Linked DNA regions of Homo sapiens: all the other regions are linked to region 3. The links are contacts of gene promoters, found by promoter capture Hi-C in blood cells and fetal thymus (Javierre and others, 2016). All regions are on one chromosome and are shown on one strand. Each heading gives the region's core, a stretch centred on a gene start or on the middle of the fragment in contact. The rest is flanking DNA. Distances are from core to core; before and after follow the strand shown. Region 1 overlaps ACYP2 (acylphosphatase 2). Region 2 overlaps ACYP2 (acylphosphatase 2). Region 3 holds the start of SPTBN1 (spectrin beta, non-erythrocytic 1).

The links. The method cuts DNA at HindIII sites, captures the fragments that hold promoters and counts their contacts. A CHiCAGO score of 5 or more calls a contact.
Region 1: a contact is called between a fragment that was not itself captured here and the fragment with the promoter of SPTBN1 in region 3, in 2 of 17 cell types (megakaryocytes and endothelial precursors). The highest score is 8.0, in megakaryocytes.
Region 2: a fragment that was not itself captured here is called in contact with the fragment with the promoter of SPTBN1 in region 3 in 2 of 17 cell types (megakaryocytes and endothelial precursors); the score reaches 6.0 in megakaryocytes.

What each region holds. Positions count from the first base shown.
Region 1 is chr2:54,193,813-54,197,790 of GRCh38, reverse strand. The region is part of intron 3 of ACYP2 (acylphosphatase 2); the gene reads right to left. Among named protein-coding and RNA genes, the nearest start is that of TSPYL6, 60 kb to the left of the region's middle. The HindIII fragment of the contact is 1,231 bases long and covers 2,105-3,335 here.
Region 2 is chr2:54,169,050-54,173,153 of GRCh38, reverse strand. All of the region lies in intron 3 of ACYP2 (acylphosphatase 2), which reads right to left. Among named protein-coding and RNA genes, the nearest start is that of ACYP2, 55 kb to the right of the region's middle. The HindIII fragment of the contact is 2,731 bases long and covers 1,419-4,104 here.
Region 3 is chr2:54,454,749-54,458,492 of GRCh38, reverse strand. SPTBN1 (spectrin beta, non-erythrocytic 1) reads right to left here and starts at 2,166. Exons shown (of 36, transcript NM_003128.3): 1 at 1,975-2,166. The HindIII fragment of the contact is 18,714 bases long and covers 1-3,744 here.

The sequences.
Region 1 (3,978 bases), core at 1,471-3,970, 260 kb after region 3:
CTTTTGACCAAATCCTCCACCACACATCCCCTTCCTCTCAGCCTTCCACCCCACTAGCCTTCTACTTATTCCTCAAAGAAAATGTGTTCCTGCCTCGGGGCCTTTGCACCATGCAGTTCCTCTGCCTAGAATGCCTTTACCCTAGATCTTTGTATGACTGGCTTCTCCTTGCCATTGGGGTCTCAGCTCATCCCTCATCCTGGCCACCCCATCTAAGGAGTTCCCCAAGCACTCCTGTCACACAACCTTCGTTCTGTCTTCTCAGAGCATGCATTGGTTTTGGATACTATGTTGCTTACTAATGTATTGCTTTCTCCTCAAGACTATAAGCTCCTCAAAAGCTGGATCTTTGTGTATACTGCTCACTACTCTTATAGGTAAAGGGAAAGGGGGTTCATGCCCCTGGGGAAGATGGGAGTACGTGGAGAAGTTCCAGCTTCCTCCCCCGCAACCCCTGTAGGGAGTGGGAGAGAGAACTAATTCTGAGATGCATTGTTCACTGTTCCTCAGAGTCCTCAGATATACAGTGCCCTGGGTGACCCCTGAGGTAGCTCTCAACCCAACATCAACTCCTGTATTAGCTTTTCTTCCTTCCCTGTTTCATTCTCCCCTCTCCATCATTCTGCTTCCTGAAATCACCTCCCAACGAACCACTCACTGTCTCAGGCTTGCTCTCAGGGAGATCTCAGCTAAAATAATCTCTAAGCCTCATTTTGCTCCTCTGTAAAGGGGGGTTATAATACTACCTAATCTTGTTAGTACCTTCTCCTAACACAGTGCTGTTTTAACTCAGTGTTGTGCTATGAGGATTAAATGAGGTGACACGTGGACAGTTCTCATCATGGTGTCCAGCACACATGAAAATTCCACCAGTACTACTTCGCTCGTAATACCAACAGCAAGCAACAGTTCAAGCAACACTTAATCTACCATGATACACTTTCACAGGAAATCAAACAGGCAATTCACATAAATGTGGGGCTATCTTCTAGCACCATGGTCCTCTGGGGGCGATTTCATCCCCACTGGGGATGTGACCAATATATGGAGACAAATTTGGTGACCACGACTGGGGGTTGCTAGTTGCAACTAGAGGGTGAAGGCCAGAGAAGCTGCTAAACATCCTAATGCACAGGACAGCCCCTCACAACAAAGAATTATCCAGCCCCAAATGCCAATAGCACCAAAGCTGAGAATCCCTATCTAGCACAGTATCCTGATGATGAGAGGAGCTTAATAAATATTTATTTAATGTAATTCACCAAATCTTAAAAAAAATTGAAATAATCACATCAGAAGAAGAAAATTAAATCTTGGCTGGAGGTCTGTGTATGTTTACCACAGAAACAAAGCCATATAAAGCACACATCCATGGCTCATTTGGGAAAAAGGACAAATCTTTTTTTTAAAGGACAAATCTTAAAATAGGTTAAGTCTGTAGTCCCAGTTACTCGGGAAGCTGAGGTGGGAGGATGGCTTGAGCCTGGGAGGTGGAGATTGCAGTGAGCGGAGGTTTCAGTGAGCCAAGATTGTGCTACTGCCCTTGAGCCTGGCTGACAGAGTGAGGCCCTGTCTGAAAAAATAAAATATGTTAAATATCAAGGTATGGCAGAAGTTCTAGATGCCCATTTAATACACATTCAGCCCTTTCTCTTTAGTAATAAAATCCAATTTTAATTAAGATGACAATGTGGGCCGGGCATGGTGGCTCATGCCCGTAATCCCAGCACTTTGGGAGGCCAAGGTGGGTAGATCATCTGAGGTCAGGAGTTTGAGACCAGCCTGACCAACATGTTGAAACCTTGTCTCTACTAAAAATACAAAAATTAGCTGAGTGTGGTGGCAGGCGCTTGTAATCCCAGCTACTCAGGAGGCTGAGGCAGAAGAACTGCTGGAACCCAGGAGGCAGAAATTGCAGTGAGCCAAGATCGCGCCATTGCACTCTAGCCTAGGCGATGGAACAAAACTCTGTCTCAAAAAAAAAAAAAAAAAAAAACCCACAACAAAACGATGACAATGTACCCCTCTAAAAAATTATTTAACCATCCTCTCTTGCAACTAAATGAAGCACATGTCACTGAATAACAGCTCCTAAGAAAAAGCTTTAAAGACAATTGACCCAGTTAGTACAGTGTTTTGTTTTTTTTTTTTTGCCTTTGGCCAGTCTTCATTCTTGCAACGTGGCTGCGGATGTGATAGCTGGGGCTGCGGGGGCCACATGGCAACCATGAGGTGCCCTGGAGGATGGAGTTTGGGATCCTTGTAAGCAGGGAACTGCCATGCGAGCCATGAACTGTGTATCTCTGTACTTCTCTTACGTAAGAGAAAAACCACCCTCTCTTTTGTTTCAGCTAGTATTACTTGGGCTTCCAGTGACACTTACTTAAGGGATTAAATCTATTAACTATAGTCGTGAAAGGAAGCTGACTGTCAAAGGATATATATCTAAAATATTAATATCATCTCTCAGTTAATTATCACTAGCAACAAAGAAGTTTAAGGATCTGAGAAGATCTGCGGAGGTCCATGAAGCTAGGTAAATTGGTTTGTGACTGGCAATGCCCTCTATACCATAGAATCTAACAATCGGCCCTTTTATAGCAGTGACCACATTCCCAAAGGAGCTAATGAGGCCAACAGAAGAGAAACACCCTGTAGGCAGATGCACATGAAGTTCTGTGAAGATCAAAAACTGCCATTGTAAATATGACTAAAAAGAAAAGAGTGAAGCAGTTTAGCCACTGAATTTTGAGGTCTCTATTCTGACCTAGTTTGGGGAGGTACCAAAAATAAGTCAATGCATATGGTTCTCTCTATTCCTACCTTCATTTGAATATTCATTATCAGAAAACACAACATCCTAAAATAGCTTCTAGAGTTTCCACTAGTGATACCAACTCTGAATATATACACTTCTAGTAATATACAGTCAAGTGACAGCCTACTATGTGGATAGCATTGTAAGAAGGTATAAAGGTTCATAAAAGAAGGAAACAGTTCATTCCTAACCTAAATAGCTTTCATATCTAGTTAGGAATACCAAACATGACACTTGCAAACAAATTGATAATAACATGACAAAGCAACAGAAAGTGTTTGCAGAACTTGTAAATATATTAAAGAGAAAAAAAGAACAAAATTAAAGGTGAAAAATAACATAGTCTTTGATGTTGATGGTACTTATTACTCAATAGATATAATTTGTACTATATGTTCATATAATATATTATTATATAACATTATGGACTTCCTGATAAAAGAAAAATAATCAATGAGTGCACTCAAGATTTTAATAACGTGCCTCCTGGATGAAAAAGCTGAGTTAAAGGAAAGCTTTAACTCAATAAAAGTATGCAGTTAATTTTTTTCACTTCCAAATATTGATGTTTTACTTCCTGTAGAATTGACTAAAATCCATTACACAGTGTTCCCAAAAGAAAATGTTGATGGGGGCTGGGCGCGGTGGCTCATGCCTGTAATCCCAGCACTTTAGGAGCCCAAGGCAGGTGGATCACTTGAGGTCAGGAGTTCAAGATCAGCCTGGCCAACATGGTGAAACCCCATCTCTACTAAAAATGCAAAAATTAGCCAGGTGCGGTGGCACACCCCTGTGGTACCAGCTACTTGGGAGGCTGAGGCAGGAGAAATCACTTGAACCTGGGAGACAGAGGTTGCAGTGAGCCTAGATCGTGCCATTGCACTCCAGCCTGGGTGACAGAGGGAGACTCCATCTCAAAAAGAAAAAAAAGAAAATGTTGATGGGGTGAAAGATGATCAGTCCTAAGGCTTCATATATCATGCCTATTTGGAAATCTGATTTTTAATATTTTAAGCACAGCACAAATAAAATCACATGAACAGAATATTTTACTCTATAATGTTTAAGCAAGTTTTAAATGAATCATAAATGAGAGTGTTTCTATTTTTTCCCAACTCATTATGCCAATTACTTTCTAATACATTACTACTTATTTGCAG
Region 2 (4,104 bases), core at 1,535-4,034, 290 kb after region 3:
TGTAAATTAGTTCAACCATTGTGGAAGACAGTGTGGCAATTCCTCAAGGACCTGGAAGTAGAAATACCATTTGACATAACGATCCCATTACTGGGTATATAACCAAAGGATTATAAAACATGCTGCTATAAAGACACATGCACACATATGTTTATTGCGGCACTATTCACAATAGCAAAGACTTAGAACCAACCCAAATGTCCATCAATGATAGAGTGGATTAAGAAAATGTGGCACATATACACCATGGAATACTATGCAGCCATAAGAAAGGATGAGTTCATGTTCTCTGCGGGGACATGGATGAAGCTGGGAAACATTATTCTCAGCAAACTATCACAGGAACAGAAAACCAAACACCACATGTTCTCACTCATAGGTGGGAATGGAACAGTAAGAACACATGGACACAGGGCAGGGAACATCACACACAGGGGCCTGTCAGTGGGTGGTGGGCAGCTAACCAACATGGCACATGTATACATATGTAACAAACCTGCACATTGTGCTCATGTACCCTAGAACTTAAAGTATAATAATAAATAAATAAAAGAAAAAAGAGATTAGTAGAGTTCAATTTATTCTACTCATCCACATACTGCTCCCTCTCCAGGTGTGGAAGCTAAATTTGTCTTCACACCCTTCACTGCCATGGGTTACACACATTGTTGTGAAAAATTGGTCAACATGATTGACATTTCATCAGTTTTGATGATTTGGAGAAAAGAAGGAAATTCAACCAAGGCCAACACTTCAGTTGGTACAAATGTGTTCATAAACAAAGCACATGATCATATGAAACATCTTCAATTTTAAAAGCTTTGCCTTAAGTAATGACTTTTGTCTCTTTGCAAGCAAATATATATACATGTGTATATTTATATACATATTTTTTTAATGACCATGGTTAGAAGGAATATAATTTTTATTTTTCTAGAGACAGGGTCTCGCTCTGTTACCCAGGTTGAAGTGCAGTGGCACAATTATAGCTCACTGCAGCCTCAAACTCCTGGGTTCAAGGGATCCTTCCTGCCTCAGCCTCCTGAGTAGCTGAGACTACAGACACATCCCACCATCCTTGGCTAATTGTATTTTTTATTTTTGTAGAGATGGGGTATCCCTATGTTGACTAGGCTGATCTTGCACTGCTAGGCTCAAGAGATCCTCCTCCCTCAACCTCCTAAAGTGGTAGGATTACAGGTGTGAACCGCCACACCCAACCCAAGAATATCAATTTTTAAAACCAACATTCCAATTAGTACAGGGAAAGAAAACGGCACCTTTTTAAAGAAAAGCAAGCCCCTTAAAGAGGAGAAAGAACTGTAATTAGAAATGTATTAAGAACTAAAAAGCCGTTTTTAACTTGTTTCCTAAGACACCGAAAAATAGAACTGACAAGTACAACTTCCAAAGAAGCTTAGATTTACTTACTCTATTATTAAAATTTCCAGTTCAAAATTTTTAGAATTACTAATGAAAGGGGTGAAAAAAGCTCTTACAGGAAAAAAAAACTAAGATCCTCAAGTTAAATTTGTAATGCTTCTACTGGTGAAAATTGACCTTCATGAGCAAAGAAAACAACAGAGTTGCTCTCAAACAGGTTAATAATGTATTTAGCAACCAACGCCACATTGTGATTCTTATACAACCACAAACGACACAAGATAGTGTCCTAAATTTGTGGACATAACTTTTTGGCATAACACAGCTTTTTGGCAGATAAATTTGCTTAATAGAGAAGATATGCATTTGGCCATCAGGAACTAGGGCTCTTAGTGGATGGGTAACAGCTCGCCCCCCGATAACATTCCCATATTCCATTCGCTATCTTCAGTATGGGGAGGAAAGCTGTGGACTGTATTTCTTTATGTTTGAAGCCCTTCTGAGTAGTTTTATGAGATTAAAAGGGTCGTATTTGGGGCTGGACAGCAGACACGAAGGAAGGCCAGCGTGAACCTTTGGGAATGTGCACTCCGGCTTGCGCACTCCAGCCTGTCCCCTGCTGATCACATATGGGGAGGGGGATGTACAAGGTTAACCTTGAGAGGAGCTCTGGCTCAGAGATCCCGGCCCAGGATCTGTCACATACACACAGAAGGCAGCCCAAAGAGTATGAAATGCCGAGCCCTCCCGATAGTCTTGATAGCCTCCCAGTACAACCAGCCACTCCAGTAAATAAACAAAGTGAGCCCTGGCATTTCCCTGTGATTGACTTGGATGGCGCTGCACCTCACAGGGGCAGTGAGGAGGTGATTGTGTCAGGCAGTGGAGAATTACTGAGACCTGCAGATGGATGCTAACAGACCCTCCTCCCACCTTTGACTGTGTAACTACTTCATTACAGGAGTTCCAGGCCTTCAGATAAGGTCAAGAGACCAAAAGTATAAAGCATATCCTCCTTCCTTTTGCCTATCCAAATCTTAACCTTTCCTTTTAAAAATCCCTGTTCTTTACGAAGTCATATTACAATCCCAAAGTCATATTACAATCCCTGCCCACAAGATTTTCCCATCTAGCTGGAGATGTGAATATACTTCCAACCGCCTAAGAGACTGTGTCTATTCTGTGATTTTAAAAAAAAAAAAAAACTGTTTTAAGAAAAATTTCTGCAACAGGATTTGGAGGTAAAGTTTTTCTATCACCTGGTATTGGCAACCAAGTATCACCAAGTGTCACAAAACGCTAAAAGAAGAAATGAACTGGCCAGGCGTGGTGGCTCATGCCTGTAATCCCAGCACTTTGGGAGGCGGAGGCAGGCAGACTGCTTGAGGCTGTGAGTTCGAGACCAGGCTGGCCAACATGGTGAAACCCCGTCTCTACTAATAATACAAAAATGAGCCAGGCATGGTGACACACACCTGTAATCCCAGCTACTCGGGAGGCTGAGGCAGGAGAACCACTTCAACTCAAGAGGTGGAGGTTGCAGTGAGCCAAGATCGCGCCACTGCACACCAGCCTGGGCAACAGAGTGAGAGTCTGTCTCAAAATAAAAAGAAGAAATGAACAACTGGAGCCAGATTCCTCCTTGAGGGCACCTTAGGACACAACTTACATAGTTCTAAAAATATAAAAACTGACTGCTGATGCATTAACCAAAAGTCATATAAAAGCATAATGAGGAAATGAGGGAAGGAAAGACTAGTTTAAGAGTCACATCTTCATCTATCATAATAGGACATCAATAGATTTGTCTATCACGGTAAAAAGTCACCAGATAATATCTAAAGTTAATGATTTAAGAGATACCAGTTAATCTGAAATTAGGAGGAATACTCAAAAAAATCGCTAAAACTATTGTTGAGGAGTGGGATGGGATGGGTTGAAGAGGCAGTAGTTGCTGGTTTTTAAATATTTTTAGCACTGTTTGACTCTTAGCATCCAGGTATTATTTCATTAATTATTAGAATTATTGAAAAATAAAATTAACTTATAGAAATAGAAGGCAATATTTTTCTCGATGGAAAAAAAACCGTAAGTTTCATGGGCCTTTCCTGTGCACTGTTTGTCAAAAATGTTGTCTAGAGTACATGGATATGGCTGGTAGGTAGTAGCTAGACTTACATCAAATTCCTAGAGGTTGGCCAGGTGAAGTGGATCATGCCTGTAATCTCAGCACTTTGGGAACCCAAGGCAGGAGGGTTGCATGAGGCCATCATGGCCAACATAGCAAGACCTATTCTCTCTTAAAAAAAAAAATTCTAGAGGCTGAGGATTGTTTATCACATTTTTTGATGTAGGATCCAAACGAAGGTGAGCATGTGTGTATTTATTTCAGTAATGTCCATAAATTTGAAACTGAAGTCAAAGGGGGATAGGGGAGGCTCTCATGGGTGTGCTCCAAGCATCAAAGAAACAGATCAAAATCAGACAGACCTAACAAAGAGGAACAACACACCAGGACCCAAGAACGCAAGCATGCAACTCCAATGGCACCACACATGCTAATTAGCCCTGGAAGATTCACTGCTGAAACTATCTACTGGAGTCATCAGAAAAAGGCCAACCTCTGCTAAATAGCTTCCATTCTGTGGGGAAAAAGGTAAGCGATAAGTCTAACATACTTTAGAAAGAATAGCGTTCAAAATTATTTAGGTAGAAAAATTC
Region 3 (3,744 bases), core at 917-3,416:
CGCCCGGACACTTAACTTGGCTACCTCAATCAATAGAAATCTGAATACCAATTTAGCCCCCATCATGACACTCATACACCTAATAATCCTTAATAAAGCATCCAAATAATGCAACTGTACTTGACTTAGAAAAAGCAAACGATGAAAACAAAATACAAGCTAAAGGAATCATTTACTATCCATTAAAAAACATATAAATTCCTTTTAAAACAACCTACTGAATTTTAATATACTTATAAATGTCTTAGTGACATAAAACCCAAAATGCATTAATCATTTCATTTAAAAATGGTTTCCTACAGAAAAAATGCATACTTGGTATTAACCAAAGACAGACGAGGTACTGTAATGTCACAGTTGTGAAGGTCCAATTAATAAACACCAACTTTTCACGTAGAAAAAATTAATGCATAGCTGGGTTGTGGTTACAGATTATGGACGATCCACAGAAAAACGCTGCGACTCCCCACACTGCAACATTGCCTCCGCACACCACTGGGCCCAGTCCTTCCTGCAGCCCCTCCCTATGGCTCAGGTCCCCTGGTCGCAGATCAGATTCCGATCCGCAACCACAGGCCGGCTCCCCTCTGCCTGCACTGGTGATGCAGGGCGCCCCTCCGGCAGAGCGCAGCCCAAGAAGAGGTGCAGGAGGGATCATCCCAAAAGAAAAGACTCTCCCCTGCTCACACCTAGCTGACCTGGTCCTCCTGACGCCACATCCAGCAGAAGCTGCAGGACAAGGTAGCAGCAGCTCCAGGCCTCGGCCAAGGGCAGCCCCGGGCCTGGGTGGGGCCGGGCGGGGGCCGCAGGCGCCGAGCGGCCGTGCCAAGCCCCGCCAGCGAGAACCAAGGAAGCTGCGATACTGCTGCATTGTGCTGCATCACGGCGAGGGCACCGTGAGCCATCCATCTTGCCAAAAAAGCACATCCCCGCCCAAATAAACCCCACCGAATTCAATTTTCTGCTCCGCCGAAGCACCCCCACACGCACCCTGTCCTCACTTACTATCTGGCCTGGCTTTCGATTGGAAAAATAATGGACAGAGGTTTGCGTTCTGATCCCCACCCCCTCCTCATCTGATGGCAGCAGTTGGCACCTTTCCTATCACAAAAACAAAGAGAAGGCGCCCCCTAAAAGAGGGCCGTGGGCGTGGTGTGGGGGGTGATGACGAGCCAGCCCACCTACCCAAAGCAGGCCCGGAGGGTCCCTGCGCTGAGACAAACCTGTTGAAGAGAGGGTGGCAGGAGCTGAAGGGCGGGCGCAGCGGCGGCTCGGCGCCCGGAGGCGGCTCACGCCCAGCCCTGGGAGAGTGGGGACGGCAGAAAGGGCGGGGGGGGGGCGGGCGCACGAGGGTAGCAAGCGCAGGGATGGGGCGGAGGTGGGGGCGCGGGGCCGCCGCCTCCGGCTCAGCTGCAGCGCGGCGCAGCCGGGACCACGCCTGGCCGCATCCCCTGCACCGCTACGCGCAGAGCCCGGCCCTGTCACCGCCGCCCCCGCTCCCCACCCGCGGGGCCACAGAGAGGGCACCTGAAAATAGACCCTCCGGCTGTCCGCTGTCCGCTCCGCACCCACCTCCGCGCCAGGGGCCTCCGCGTCAGGGGCCGCCGCGCCCGGCTGCAGGGAGGCGCCGGCGGAGGCAGGGAGGAGGAATCGCCGCGCCGCGCCGGGGCTGGGGCCGGACGGCAGCGGTGCGCACGGCGGGTCTGCTGCCGCCTCACCGCAGAGCCTGCCGCCCCTCGTCCCGCATCATCCGAGTACCAATGAGCACCCGCGACCCGGGCTCCCCGCGCCGCCCCCGCCCGGGCTTTGCAGCCTCCCTGCCCCCACGCGGCTCCCCGGGCGCAGGGCAGGCGGGCAGCGGCGTCCTCCGGCCCTGGGCCCGCGCCCCTCCTCCCGCCCGTCCGCCGCCGCGGAGCCCACCCGGGAGGCAGCCCCAGTGAGTTGGCATCTCCCTGCCTCGGGCCCCCTACCTACCTCCCGGGGATGGGGTGGGGGCGCCGGGGTCCCGTCCTCCTCCCGCTCCTCGGCGGCCGGGCGGGTGGGCCGGGAGGCGACTCCGCGGGTCTGTCCGCGGCTGGGGCCGGGGCTCACAGGACGGGACCAGTGGGCGCTGCTGCGCAGGGCTGCGCGCTCGCTCCGGGAGGAGAGGCGGCCGAGGGAGGGACTGGAGGAATCCGCAGCCTGCACGGCAACAGCGGCACTGATTCCGGGGGCTGGGCGGGAGCGCGGGGGGCGGGGGGAGGAGGAGAGGAGGGCGCTCGCAGGGAGGGGGCGAGGGGCGGGGAGAGGAGCGCGCGGGGCGGGCGCGCGCGCACACACACACAAGCGCACTCCCGGGATCCCTCCCGCACGCCCTCCGCCCTCCGCACTCCTCCCTCCCCACTCCCGCCCGCTCCCTCTGCTTCGCCCGCCCTCTCCTCCTGCCCGGAGCCCCGCAGCCGCCCAGGGAGCCGAGCCTCGGGCGCGTCCACGTCCTCTCCAGCTGAGGCTCTTCCCGGGTCCAGCCCGGACCTCATCCTCCCAGCGGCGGGGACCGACCAGGCTGGCCGGGGCGGGGTGGGCACTGCTGCTGCCGCTACCCGAGCAGGACAATAGGGGCTTTGTCTCCACAGCCGGAGAGGGCCAATTTCACGTTTAATTTGAGGCTAATTCGATTATCGCCATGGAAAGAGGCGGTCTAATTTTCTACGTGATTTGTGCAGCCTCTTTTCGCCCTTGATGTTGCGTTCGGAATGCTGGGGAGAGAGGGTATTTAGGGAGGTTTTGGAGCGTCACTTGCTTGGTTGGTTTGAGATGCAGTTGGTGATGCCTTATAGGTTCTACCCAACTTGGAGAAGGGCGACGGCGACCTCTTCGTGGGAAACCTTGGGCGCTGGAGGATGGGTGGTGGGGGTCGTTCCTTGTGAGGTTAATGTATTCTTTTGCAAATGCTTTTTCGCCCACCCTTTCGCTTTGGGTAGCTGGGAGCAGACCCTACAAGTGGTTCATCCAACTCCTGCCTCTCAGTGCAGGCTCCGCTCGAACCTGAGGCCAGGTGCCCTGCCCCAGTCACTCCCGAGAGAGGGGTCGTCCGGCCGCGGTGGAGGGCCCCGTGATGGCGTGGGGACTTGCGTTTTCCCCTATGCGCATTCCCTGAAACGGAAACTGGACGTTTCCTCAAATTTTTGTCATGTGCCACTGCCCCTTCCCAGTCACCTGGTCTACCCCGTCAGCCCCTCAGGCTGTGTAGAAATTCCAGAACCGTCACTGTTGTGAAGAAAAGATGGTGGAATCACCAGGACCACGAATGGAAACGCTCTTTAGAAAAGCAGTTTGAAGAAACTGACTTTCTCCTTGTTCTGTAAAGTGCACAGGGCGGCACTGCGGGCATTCAGAGGGAGGAGGGCCCTTCCTGTTTGAAAAAGCCCCAGGGCTTTTTCCCCATACAGACCTGATCACCTGGATTAAAATAAAACAAAAATACACGGCAGCCAAGTAGTTTGTATCATGCTTATATCTCAGATCACTAGAACCTGGCCTGATGGGTTTATATGTTTGTATGTATTTTTAAATGAATATTTTAAAATAAAACTCAGTGAAATCGTCACAGCAAACTGAAGATGATTCTTCCTTTTAGGCCTTCATAGGTTTGAATGTTTGAACCTATGTTTACTTTTGATAGGAAAAAAATTGAGGAAAGCAAATAACATTTTTTCTCAGAAGGTGAATCAACACAACCAGACCGTAAACTCTCTTAAAGGTAGG